Regions from separate parts of the Homo sapiens genome. Here all the other regions are linked to region 4. The links are contacts of gene promoters, found by promoter capture Hi-C in blood cells and fetal thymus (Javierre and others, 2016). All regions are on one chromosome and are shown on one strand. The core of a region is centred on a gene start or on the middle of the fragment in contact, and the rest is flanking DNA. Distances in the headings are between cores, read along the strand shown.

Region 1 (2,700 bases), core at 147-2,646, 260 kb after region 4:
TTTGAGACACCAGACAAGCTGCTATCAGTACATGGGTGCCAAGATGGTCCTTTAATAAAGAATTGTGGTTTAAGAATTTCAACCAAAGGATTAATGTATTAAACTGAATAATAGCATCCAGACAGTAGCAAAGATGATGATCAGAGTTGGTGAAAGAAAGATTATTGATCATCTGGCTCTATCAGTCACAAACAGGGAAGAAGAAAACAAAAAGGAGGAAAAGGAGATTAAAGAAACAAAAAATAGTTTAGTAATGCCAGCTGATTCTGTTGCTAATTATAAATCTTTGGCAAGAAGCCTTAGCTATACAGTAACTCTCCAGTTATCTGGTGGTCAGATTTCCAGCAATCTTTACCACTCAGAACACAGATGAGATCCTGGAATTGTATCTCTCATAGCCCTGGCTGCATAGGAACAACTTTCTTTTCTGGATGCATTCAGCTATTCCCTGGAAGGTTTATTAAACTGATTATGCATATACATTTAAGATTGCTTATTTAATATATCTGTTTGTCTGGATTTTTAAAGCCCCTTTAAGTTCTTCTCCAGGTTATGGAGGGAAGTGGAAATAGGGAGGGGGTAAAATGCACTGGGGATGGGGGAAGGACGTGCAGGTTAGCAGGCTATAAAATAAATAAAATAGACATGAATAACTATTATTTTGCAGACAATGAGTATTCAAGAGAGAGATTGCTCAATTGTCTTGATACTTAGAAGAAGGAAAGATAGCTCTTAGCTGTGGAATCCAAGAAAGTCTTCATGGAGAGGGGACATTGTTGTCGGGCCTAGGGGTTATCTAGGATTGAAAAAGGTGGGAACTGGGAGATGGACATTCGAGAAGCCTTGGGGTAATGACCCAGGGATAATAATATTAGGAATCATTAATGAAGTGCTGAAAATTTGGTTGAAGCATAAGGTGAATCTATGAGAGTCATGGAAAATATGGCTGAAGTAGAAATAAAGACCAGGCTATGGAGACTTTTGAACGCCAAACTCAAGTTTTCAGACTTCATTGTAGGCCATTAGAGCTACTGAAAGCATTTGATCAGGGGAGTTGGGATGCTAGGGTTGTTTTGCCAGGGTTGGGACAAGCATATTGGGAGAGTGGAGACAGTAGAGTGGGCAATGTACTACTTGAACTTAGGAGCATTCAGCAGATGACTAGCCCATTGTGGGGGATCACAGGAGAGGCTGGAGAGAGATTTGGAGTCAACTAAGTAGGGGCTAAAAGCAATAGTTAAATTCAAAGATCAGATGAGATTATTGAGGGAAAGAATGTAAATAATGAAAGAACGAGGAATGACAGATCCTTGGAATCTCTATTAGAACAGTACTGGAGGAGTTTGAGAAGTTATATATAGAGAGTATAACAATTAGGAAGGAGGAACATAGACTGCAGTGTTGTAGAAAAGGAAGAGTAGAAGAGGAAGGAGCAAAGAACTAACACACATTGAGTATCAACTCTATATCCAGATCCAGATGTATGCAATGTTATTTAATCTTTCCATGCATCCTATTAGAGATATATTCTTACCCTAATTTTACAAAGGAAGAAATTGATGTTCAGAGGGGTTAGGTTACATGTCCAAAGCCACCAAATAGCAAGTAGCTGAACTGTGATTTATGCTCAAGTTTATTTGATTCCAAAGCCTATGCTTTTGCACTGTTAAATGCTGCCAACAGGTTGAAGCATCTAAGAGAAGAGAAAGGGTTGTTTGACTGGTTTACCTCAGGAGAGTTGTGAGAGCAGAAGCCATATTTCACAATAATAAGAGATAAATGGGTGATGGATTCAATTTAGTTCACATACTGTTTATTGGGCATCTGATGTGTAATGAGGAAATTTTCCAGCTACTGGAAGTCCAAAAACCAATAGAGCTGAGTCCTTGCTCTCAAGGAGTATGAAATTTGGGAGGGACAAAACACACACATAGATCATTTCAATATAATATGGTGTCTGCTTTGAGAACACAGTTTGTCCTTTCAAGAAACAGAATAAAAATTTAATAAAAAGAGCAGAGTAAAGAGTTTTTACATTTTTAAGATAATGTGAACTTGAAGATGTTTGTAGATTGATTGGATGGTGCATTGGTGAAGGGGCCAGTGAAGATGTTAAAATAAGAGCAGATAAGAGGAGAATGGCAGACATATGGGATTGGGAGGGTGGGCAGTAGACTTGAGAAAAAAACAGAATAATCTGATAATATTCATGGATATATTTAATAGATGCCCATTACTATCTTTGCATATTCTATGGAAAAGTAACTGACCTGAGAACATTAACTTAATATTTTGTTTTGGATCAATATTGTTTGTTAGGCAGGCTACTCTGCCACCTTTGGCCACCCTTGGTGTTCCATTTATAGCGGGCATAAACTCTGAGCAGTCAAGTTCAAGGTCGAAAAAGTCCTTTTAATGTATTTGTGCTTAGGAAGCAAAAGTTGAAAACCACATCTGGGGCAGATAGAAGAGTCTAAAGATGATTATATGAGTTTCAAATTCTGGCCAATTTTTAAACATAAGGCAAACAAACAGATACACAAATTATATAGAAGTATCTATTTTGTTTAATCATTCTAATTTTAAAGGGTAAATAATTAAAGTACATTTCAATACTGTGATTAGAGGCCACAAAAACTTTGTCCAAAAAACAGTGCTTATTTCTCATCAGAAACATCTAAGAGGAAAAGAAAATGTTGT
Region 2 (2,700 bases), core at 74-2,573, 320 kb before region 4:
TTAAAAGTCATTGTTCATGGGTGGCCACTGTCAAAACTAAAAAGCCTTAAAATACAATCACATGAAATTTTACACAATATCACAGGCATGTTCTAGACCAGTGGTGTCCAATCTTTGGCTTCTCTCAGCCATGTTGGAAAAACAGTTGTCTTGGGCCACACATAAAATACACGAACAATAACAATAGCTGATGAGCTTAAAAAGAAATCTCATAATGTTTTAAGAAAGTTAGAAAATGTAAGAATTTGTGTTGGGCCGCATTCAAAGCTGTCCTGGGCCAAAGGCTAGACAAGCTTGTTCTAGACTAATGTTTCCTGAACTAAGAAACTTTTTTTCTAGAAATACTTTTATACAAGGGAAATTCCAGAAAATCATATTTTCTTTTGTCAAAATTTACATAACAGAAAATGGCAGCTTTCATAGTCTGATTAATATAACCCATGAAAGTGAAAAAAATGTGTATGGAATTCTTTGGTTTAATCCAGTAAAACTGAGTAACACCAGCCCTTAAGTGACTTGTTTCTGTGTTTCTATGTAGAAGAGATGATATCTTTAGGCAGAGGATACCGGTAGTGCGCAGAGCAGGAAAAAAGTAAGTAAATTAACAAAGTGAATGGCAACCATATTTTTCAAACTCTAATAACTCATTCCTTCGACCACATTTTCTAAGCAGCTATTATCTGCTAGGTGGCATACTAGGTATTAGGGATAAAACGATAAACAAGATAGATATGACTCTTGTCATCATAAAGCTTAGAATAAAATGGGGAGAAAAAAATCAAGCAAACAAAATTATTACAGGTTATATAAAATGTTATTACAGAGGCAGAAAAAGAGTGCTAAAATAGAGGTCTCATTTTAGATCGGGTGCTCAGGAAAGGACTCTCTGAAATGACGAAACTTTAGCTGACTTGAGAAAGCCATGAAGAACAAGGGGTGTGGGTTGGGGGCATGAGTAAGTATTGCCAACAAAGGGACCAGCAAGCAGTAATAGGACTTGAGGCAGGAAAAAGCTTGATGTTTCAAAGTGAGTAAACAAGGCCAGTGCTGCCACAGCACATTAACGAGAAGACAGGGGAGGAGATGATGTTGCAGAGGCAGACAGCGCCCAGATTGCGTGGACCACAGCAACCCTGTGCATACTCTGGATTTTACATAGGCAATAGGAAATCACGGATGGCTTTCAATCAGGGATTATTTAATCAAGGTTACAAGTATCAGCAAATGGATATAGGCACTAAGCTTTCTTTCAATCAACAAAGGGTTCACTAAGTGCTTGCTGTGTGCTAGCGCCATATGTCCATGTTTGTCAAGTTTGGCTTTGTATCACCAGTGCTAGCATAGGCACTGGCTTTTAACATAAAAGCTCTTAATAAATACTAATGATGGAAAAGAATAATGAAAACAAGCTTAGAAAAGAACCAAAAGATAACTAGTCTGGAGGAATTTTGACCAAGCCATCCCACCCCTCAATGCTCTCTCAACTACACATATTCAACCAGGAATTTCTCCTAAAGAAGGGGAGTGTTACATTTTTATTATCAGCATGAGATGGTGAACAAAGGAAAACATAGCAGAGACTTTAGGAAAAAATTCACTGAAATACAGAATTAAGTTCTTTAGAAAGACATAAGGATGAAATGACTGCACTTTTGTGAGCAGCATCTGTGACTCAGCTCCTACTCTCCCCTTGCAGTCATCTTTGTGGGATGGCAGCTCAGAAGACCAGCAGGTCCATGATGTGAACAAACACCAGGGCCTGAACAACAGAATAGTATAAATAAAGGAAAGATGAACAAGAATTAGTCATTAATGGAAAGGACAATGTGCCCCAAAGAGGGTAGTTGGCCAAATGTGACCCCAAGAAAACAAGAAAGCATGAAAGCTGCCTAAAGAAAGGATAAGGAAAGGAAAGGGCAACAGAGTATCTGCATCGTAGCTCTAGAGGCCCCATGTACAGGAAATCAGAGACAGTAGCAAAAGTAAACATATTGACTAAGACCTTAATAAAAGCAGAAAATCTTTCTCCTATAAACAAATAAATGTTGGAGATGAAAGTAGAATTAAATACATCTTTTATTTTTCTAATTTTTTTCCTGTCATATGGAGAACTAACCATGAAGACACTAAACACTTAAAAGCAACTAGGTAAGAAGTGCTCTAAAATCAGACTAATAGTCTCAATCATTATGTTAAAAACAAGCACATTAATTACAAAAGCAAAACTATGATGCTCCTTATTCTATAGTCAGAGGTCTTTTATATAGCATATTTTGCATCCATTTGGGGATGAGTTTTTTTCCCCGTTTATTTTCCATTCCATTCATTAAAAATAATGATTGTCTTCCCTCTGTAAAAGTATAATAAACATCCAGCTTGTCTTTTAAAACACAGTTGTCGAACTTTAAAGGGCAAATATACAGGAGATTTATCCTAGAGGTCTTTAAAGCAGAGTCTGTTAGGAATAATGTCTTGTATCCAGGGAGCCATATAGAACCTTACGTGTAATATTTTATTTTTTAAAATAAGCTAGAAAGGATATTAAAAGTGTCTACTTGAAGTTGCACTGAAGCGCTTAACTCCTGGGAAACAGTGGTTTCACAGTGCATGCTACTAACTACACAAACACTTTTGAATTGGCAACCTGTGGTAAGAATAAACTATAAACTCCATAACAAGAAAACTTTGTTCCCCTTCTAA
Region 3 (2,700 bases), core at 192-2,691, 330 kb after region 4:
ATGTAATTCTGTTTCTCATTCTAAATGAGCATTCTCTTCCATACCTAATTTCCTATTAATAATTTTGTATATACCTGTATTTTTTTCCTAAAAAGGCCCCCCAAATTGCATAAGCCCCAAGTCCTACAAAACCAGATTTACCTTGCTTGGCTCTGTATACAGAGGTCCCCAAACCCCAGGCCATGGGCTAGTACCAGTCTGTGGCCTGGTAGGAAGCAGGCTGCACAGCAGGAGGTGACCAGAGGTGGGTAGGCATTACCGCCTGAGCTCCACCTCATGTCAGACCGCGGCTGCATTAGATTCTCATAGAAGTGCAAACCCTATTGTGAACTGCACATGTGAGGAATCTAGGGTACACATTCCTTATGAGAATCTAATGTCTGATGATCTTCTGAGGTGGAACAGTGTCATCCTGAAATCATCCTCCCTGGTCCATGGAAAAATCATCTTCTACGAAACTGTCCCTGGTGCCAAAATGGTTGGGGACCACTGCTCTATGAGGTAGGTACTGTAAAACACCTCTAAAATACCAAAAGTGTGTCTAGAAAAATTAATCACAGAAAATGCAGGGTTGTATTATTGCAAAATCAATGAAAATAATGTTTTTTACTTGGCCTATTCTATCACAAAAAGCACAAAACTTGAGATGTTGAGATTTATATTAGAACAAGTGACCATATACTGACCTGAAAGAGTCCCACATGACGACAAGCAATCACTTATGCAACCCCAATCCTGTTTGGCCAGCCTTCATTTGAGGATGGGAACTGGGTGAAGACTGATAGCTAGTCACCTACAAACGTAATCAAATATGATTTTTCATTTTACCAGGGTTTTACTTAGTATGTGTGCTTATTTCATATATAATAACTAAGAATCAGAGAAGTTAACTAACTTATCAAAAATTACATAGTGATTGAGCTCAGATAAACACATATCTCTGGCATCCAAATTGAAGTCTATCTCTATGTTTGCAGGTTGATTTAATATCTAAAATACAAGTGAATAGAGAACATAATGATTGACTTCCTTCCAATCCCTTTTGTTGCTCCCTCTAGAATGTCCTTATGTGAACTTTTTCCCCATGGCCCCAGAGAGGAGTGAGGCCTGTTGAAGGTCATGATGAAAATGTTGAGGCCTGTCCTGCTTCTTTTTTTTACTCCTGAAATCCTGTTTTTGACTGCCATTAAGACTTTGGAATTGGTCTGGCTCATTTATTTAATTATTGTAAGTCGAATTTCCAAAATTTCTTAAAAATAAGACTTTGACCCATCTGGACTCCGGCCTCCCCTGTTCTGACTCTTGATTATTTTGCTTTCTATTGTTTAGTTTGGGACCTTTGGTCCTTTCTGTTTCCCTCTTCTACTTTTCACCCTAGCTTGGCTTTGTAGGTTCTTTCCACAAGTAATTTATTTGACCTGGGCTCTGGAATATGACCCTGAAACCTCTTCTTACCCAGACACACATCACTCTCTGGTATCCTCATGGATATCCCTTAACAGGCAGGAACTAGCAGAATTCATCTTATGTAAGATCTGTGACACAAATTAGGCACACATCGTAATATATAGGATTTTACCAGGGATAAGGCATTCCCTTTATTGGTTTCTTTTCTAAACTATAAATGAAACAGCCACCAGTGAAATAAAATATTCCTACTCAACCTTGTCTTGGAAAATCTAACATGTATGTCAGCACAGAGGCATTTTTTCAGACAAACATTAGTTGTCTTGAATTTGGAAAATTTGATCTTCTGATGGAAATAATCCTCAAATGTTATTTCTTTTCTGTCTTCTTTGATGTGCTACACTGAAGAAACTCTTCTAACGATTTCCTGGTGACTCGGGATCATCATAGTCAACATCAGCTATCTTGTTTGGCAAAAACTTCGTGATACCCTCACTAAAGGCATCTCTATTTAATGCAGAACAAAATATTTGTCACTCATATTTATTGTAGTGGTGTTCACACTTAGGCTAGTGATTGAAGCTCCTACACTAAATGACCCTAGAATGCTATGCAACTGATTGTTATCACTATTTTGTTTCATTTCTTCGTCTTTTCTGAAGCTGTCAGCTATTGTTTCTTGCTTTCTTCTGTAAGCCAGCCTTTAACAAAGGTTAGTGCTCTGCATCTAGAACAACAGTTAACAGGAGCAATTTTGCCCCTCAGGGCACACTTCGTAAGTATGGAGACATTTTTAATTGTCACTATTTAACAGCGGGGAGGACATTACTGGCATCTAGTGGGTGGAGGTCAGGAATGTTGCTAAACCTCTTATAATGCACAAGATAGACCTCCACAACAAAGATTATCTGGGTCAAAATGACAGTATTGTCCAGGTTGAGAAATGCCGTTCTAGGATTGTGGAAAAGTAAGTAAGTTCTAAAGGCAGACCCAAGAGGTTTGTTTAATGCTATTTTTAAAAAGTGTATAATGGTGGCCCATGGTCATTGTTAAGGTCAGGGTCTAGCTTCATTTACTTCTTAAGAACAAACATGTCCTTGTGGATTGAGGTCCTTTGACCTCCAGCTGAGTGAACCATTAGTATTTGCCCTTAAGTTAACATATTCAATACCTGTGTGCGCACACAAACTACTTTCCTTTAAAGAAGAGTAGTTTGCTTTTTTTTTTCTCTTCTGTAGTTAGGTGGCTCAAATGTCATTGCTACATTAAAAAATATATCATTCCAGTTTAAAC
Region 4 (2,700 bases), core at 78-2,577:
GAAAACGGTGCACACCATTCACAGAACTGGAGAACTCCAAGGGGCGAAAGTTAAAGGGAAAGATCCCGGGTCCTCAATCCAGATAGTCTCTTCTTATACAGATATCTCTAATGACCAGATTTGAGATGCACATCAAATTGTGTAGGTATCTCAGTACAGCTTCTGGAACAAAGTTCTCTGCCCTTTCTCTTATTGTTATTTTTTTCTTTTTAGGTACCAGAGCCAGAAAAAAAAATGCTGCATGGGAGCTGCATCTTAGGGCATGTGTATTAGGGTGTGTGCATGATGAATTTCTGGACTGGATCCCAATATTAAAAAGTAGTTTGGCATTTTAATAAAGGGTCTCTAAGTAAATTAAAATAGAACACTCGGTTGGCCGATCTCTGAATCTCTCTACACCTCGGGGAGACCTCACTACAAAGTAAGGGAGAGTGTGTAGGGAGGCAGGAGGAGAAACGAGAAAGGCCATAGAGAAACTTAGCAGGGAAGGGAGAGCATGATATTAAACGGCATGGGGTCTAAGTTTTGGAGTATATATTTTTTGATATTACAATTAAAGTAAGATTAAAAAGAAAAGACTCCACCTTTGCTCTGAAGGGATTGGTTATGCAAATATGGAAGGGATTTCCTGGAGAATACAGCTTTCTACTGTATGGTTAATTAAATAATCACTCAAAAGCTTCCAACGTGACGCTTCTGTCGTAATCCAATCAGGTTACATAGGTCCTAAACAAGAAAGATATTTTCCACATCTGGAAGTCAGCAATTTAGCAAGTACTGCACATTATTAACCAATTCAGAGCCCACTTCCCAGGGGAATTTTTTTGAAGTTTAAGTGTTCTTAACCAATGCTCTGCTGTTTTGTTAATCAAAAAGCTGGTTTACACTGCACATAATTGGAACTAATATAGAAGTAAATAAAGACAGCCAAATTTGAGGATGCTGAGCACAGGCATTTATCGGAAAAGGAAGAAATCTCCTATCCTCGGATGGTTCAGGCTCAATTTCTTAAATAACTGTGAGACTTTTTTTTTTTTCCTAAAGAGTGAAAGTGCTTGAGAACCTCAGAGCACAAATAAACTTCTAGCCTCACAGCATTTAGGATTCTTCGGAAAGGTAAAGGTGGAGGTGTTAAGAGGACCAGAGAGCTGCCTCACACCAATTTTTAAGCTTTAATATTGTTAAATATGTTACACCCTCCTGTTTCCAGTCTGATGAAATCTGAAACAAATAATACCCTGATCCAACACTATATTAAGATAAACTGCTTTGAACTGTGCTTTGAATGTGTGCCTAAAGCAAGACTTTGAATGCAAGAGTCACTGGCAATTGCACTCAAAGGAGGGACAAGCCACCACATGGGTTGCCACATCCACACTCCCAGAGGTATACGTCTTTGTATTTTGTATTTTTTTTTGCGGGGCGGGGGAGTGGGGTGGGGGTGGTTAATAGCTACCTAGCACGACCACAGCTAGATCTTGTTCTAGGATGCAAGAAAGTAGATTTTCACAGTTGGTTACTCACCTCTTTCCTAATTTAAGTATTTATTATAATGAAAATAGCTGCTGGATAAATTAACTCTCTCCCCCCACCCCATCACAGATAAAGTGTCTATAGAAGAAAGGCATTCAGGATCTTCAGCTTAAAAATTATTAATAAATAAAATCAAAGATTTTCAACATGGGTCAGGCACATTCTTAATTTTATATTTTACATTTCTTTCATTATTATATATCTATACTAAATATATGTGTGACTTATCAAGTTCCTCTTCTGAGATTTAGCACCACTGTTCATGTCCATTTTTCTTCCTCTTCCTTTTTTTCCTCTTTTTTAATTTAAAAGATTGGAATCCAGCTTTCTCTAGACGTTTGCTTTACAGCCACCCTTCCACCACTCCTAAGGAAGAAGGAGCCCTTTGCATAGAGTTATTACAGGCAAGACTCCTCTTCAGGCACCCAGGTAGCCATTGGAGGCTTACAGACCAGACACACACACAAGCATAACCTCAGGTCAAAGGATCCAATCGAATAGCTAACAAAACACTTGTCTTTATTATGTATATTAAATGTCAGGTTACTTAGGATCTGACTTAAAAAAAAAAAAAAAAACCCTAAGTATTTCCATTAAAAACACCTAATCATCTGATTACCCTGGACTCAGGAATTGCTCAAGTGGCAGGAGGCAGTCCCCAACATTTATCACTGGGAGTTCCGACTAGCCAGTATTTGATTTGGGGTGAAAAAGCAGTCTTCCAGGTTCCCATGAAGGTAGATATTTGGATGGTGGCACGGGAAGGGTCTCCGCGAGGGGTGAGCGCTGCGGCTAGGTTGCCTTGCCCCTGGTTCCTGACTGGCACGCCCCTCCCCAGGCATTTGGCCGAGAGAGTTCCCAACGTGGCAGAGGTGATGGGGTCGGGAGGAAGCCGGAATATAAATTTGTTCCGAACACTCCCTCAGTCCGAGGGCCAGTTCGGGGACAATGGGGATCGTGGGATCAGGAGGATGCAGGAGCACAGGACGCAGAGAAAAGTCGAGAGAGGACTGGGGGCTGCTGGCTTTCGGCTCCTCACACAGCAAAATAAGTCCTGCAAATGAATCTCTCCTTCTCTGTCTTCCCCATTAATAATCCACTTCGAGATTAGCGCAGACGAAAGAGATTAAAACAACAGATACACGGAAATGTGAAATAATATTGCAA
Region 5 (2,700 bases), core at 26-2,525, 300 kb after region 4:
ATCACATGTATCCCATACATATGTACAACTATTGTGTATCCATAAAAATTAATACAAAAAGAAACAGTATTTGGGAAACTTAAAAATATGTAAAAATTAAACACTCACACTCCTAAGTAATCACAGGGTAAAAAAAGAAATAAAAAGGAAAATTAGAAAATATTTTAAGATGAATGACTGTTAGACACAAAATACCAAAACTTATGGATTGCAGGTAATGCAGTCCTTAGAGGGAACTTTATAGCTTGTAAGTACCTATATTTATATAGAAGTAAGTTCTCAAATTAAGCATGTAACCTTGTACCATAAGACAATGGAAAAAGAAGAGCAACTACACAAGGATAATAAAGACTCAAGTGGAAATTAATAGAAAAGAGATTATCAATAGAGAAAATCAGTAAAATGAAAACCTGGTTATTGGAAAAGACTAAAAAATTGGCAAACCTTTGCTAGATCAAGAGGAAAAAAAGAGCAAAATTACATGAATCACAAATGGAAGAGGGCACATTACTACTGACCTTAGAGAAATAAAAAGGATTATAAAGGAATACTATGAACAATTGAATGCCAACAAATTATACAACTTTGATGAAATGGACAAATTCCAAGGAAAACCCAAACTACCAAAGCAACTAAAAAAGAAATAGATAATCTGAATAGACCCATTAGCAGGAAGAGAGATTGAATATTTACATAAGAATACCAAATCTTCACAAATTCATTAAAAACATAAAAAAGTGGGAACAATTTTCAGCTCATTCCATGAGGCCAATATTACCCTGCTAACAAAACTAAACAAAGCCATAACAAGAAAACTACAGACCAATATCTCTTATGAACATCAATACAAAAATCTTCAACAAAAAACTAGCAAACTGAATCCAGCAGTGTATAAAAGAATTATAACGTAAACAAGTGAGACATTGTAGGAACAATGTTGGTTTAACATCTGAAAATCAATTAATGTATTATATCATATCAATTTAATAAAAAACCAAAAAGCCCCACATGAAGATCTCAATAGATGCAGGAAAAGCATTTGACAAATTCAACACCATTTCATGGTAAACACACTCAACCTACTAGAAATAGAATGAAACTTCCTTAATCTGATGAAGGGCATCTGTAAAAAATTCACAGCTGACATCATACTTTATGGAGAAAGACAATACTTTCCCTCTAAAATCAGGAACAACACAAAGATACCCACTCTCACTATTTTTATTTAACAGGTTTTAGCTAGGGCAATTAGTCAACAAATAAAAGGTATCCAAATTGGAAAGGAAGAGGTAAAACTGTATTCACAGAATACATGATCTTATATGTAGAAAATCTTAAAGAGTTGACTAAAAAACTATTAGAATGAAGAAATGCATTCAACAAAGTTGTGAAAACACAAAATCAATACTCAAATATTGTATTTCTATACACTGTCCATAAATAGTATAAAATAAAAATTTTAAAAAATTTTATTTACAATAGCATCAAAAAGAATGAAGTATTTACGAATAAACACAACAAAGTAGAAAACTTACACTCTTAAACCTAAAATACGTTACTTAAAGAAATTAAAGAACATACAAGTAAATTGAAGAATACTCATGTTTTGCATCGGTAGACTTAATATTGTTAAGATACCTGTAATCTCCTAATCGCTCTACAGATTCAATGCAATCCTTGTCAGAATAGCAGCTGGCTTCTTTGTAGAAATTAAAAGTCTGATCCTAAAATCTGTATTGAATTTTGAAACACCAATATAAAACAATCTTTAAAAAGGAGAACAAAGTTGGAGGACTCACACTTCCCAATTTTGAAACAGAATATAAAACAAAAGTAATCAAGAAAGTGTGATACTAGCATCAAGATAGACATATACATCTATGGGGCAGGATAAAGAGTCCAGAAATAAACACATGGCTTCTATGGTTTACTGACTTTTGGCAAGGGTATTGAGGCTATCCAATGGGAAAAGAATACTTTGTTTAACAAATAGTGGTGGAACAACTGGATAGCCATAGGCAATACAATAAAATTACACTTTTACTTCATACTTTATTCAAAAATTAACTCAAAATTAGTCAAACATCTAACTGCTAAAACCATAAAACTCTTAGAAGAAAGCATAGAGGTAAATGGCCATGACTTAGATTTAGCAATGAATTTTTAGATATGACACCAAAAGCATAAGCAAAGGCAAAAATAATTGATAAATTAGACTTCATAAAAATTCACATTCAAGAAAGTGAAAAGACAAAGCCCAGAATAGGAAAAAATATTTGTAAATCATATATTTGTTAAGGGACTCATATCCAGAATATATAAAGAATCGTTACAACTCAATAATAAAAAGACCCAATTGACAAATGGTTAAAGAGGCTTAACAGATATTTCTCCAAAGAAGATATACAAATGGCCAATAAGCACATGAAACTTTCTTGACATCATTTGTCATCAGGGAAGTGAAAATCAAAACCACAATGAAATACCACTTCACACCCAGTAGGATGGCTATAATAAAAAAGTCAGATAATGGCATTGGTTGGTGAGGATGTGCAGAAACTGGAATTCTCATACACTGCTGGCAGTAATGTAAATTATTGCCACTAGTATGAAAAACAGTCTGGTGATTCTTCAAATGATTAAACATATAGTTACCATATAACTCAACAATTTCACATTTAGATATGTATCCAAGACAAA

The links. The method cuts DNA at HindIII sites, captures the fragments that hold promoters and counts their contacts. A CHiCAGO score of 5 or more calls a contact.
Region 1: a contact is called between a fragment that was not itself captured here and the fragment with the promoter of LINC01412 in region 4, in 1 of 17 cell types (neutrophils). The highest score is 5.0, in neutrophils.
Region 2: a fragment that was not itself captured here is called in contact with the fragment with the promoter of LINC01412 in region 4 in 1 of 17 cell types (non-activated CD4 T cells); the score reaches 5.2 in non-activated CD4 T cells.
Region 3: a contact is called between a fragment that was not itself captured here and the fragment with the promoter of LINC01412 in region 4, in 1 of 17 cell types (neutrophils). The highest score is 6.1, in neutrophils.
Region 5: a contact is called between a fragment that was not itself captured here and the fragment with the promoter of LINC01412 in region 4, in 1 of 17 cell types (monocytes). The highest score is 6.8, in monocytes.

The regions. Positions count from the first base shown.
Region 1 is chr2:144,776,641-144,779,340 of GRCh38, forward strand. All of the region lies in intron 2 of TEX41 (testis expressed 41), which reads left to right. Among named protein-coding and RNA genes, the nearest start is that of LINC01966, 100 kb to the right of the region's middle. The HindIII fragment of the contact is 7,010 bases long and covers 1-2,700 here.
Region 2 is chr2:144,200,327-144,203,026 of GRCh38, forward strand. The region is part of intron 4 of QTMAN (queuosine-tRNA mannosyltransferase); the gene reads right to left. Among named protein-coding and RNA genes, the nearest start is that of QTMAN, 130 kb to the right of the region's middle. The HindIII fragment of the contact is 167 bases long and covers 1,241-1,407 here.
Region 3 is chr2:144,852,887-144,855,586 of GRCh38, forward strand. All of the region lies in intron 2 of TEX41 (testis expressed 41), which reads left to right. Among named protein-coding and RNA genes, the nearest start is that of LINC01966, 28 kb to the right of the region's middle. The HindIII fragment of the contact is 8,335 bases long and covers 1-2,700 here.
Region 4 is chr2:144,520,541-144,523,240 of GRCh38, forward strand. LINC01412 (long intergenic non-protein coding RNA 1412) reads left to right here and starts at 1,328. Exons shown (of 3, transcript NR_110570.1): 1 at 1,328-1,386. It overlaps ZEB2-AS1 (ZEB2 antisense RNA 1), which reads left to right. Exons shown (of 4, transcript NR_040248.2): 4 at 214-359. The HindIII fragment of the contact is 4,746 bases long and covers 1,169-2,700 here.
Region 5 is chr2:144,822,029-144,824,728 of GRCh38, forward strand. The region is part of intron 2 of TEX41 (testis expressed 41); the gene reads left to right. Among named protein-coding and RNA genes, the nearest start is that of LINC01966, 59 kb to the right of the region's middle. The HindIII fragment of the contact is 5,411 bases long and covers 1-2,700 here.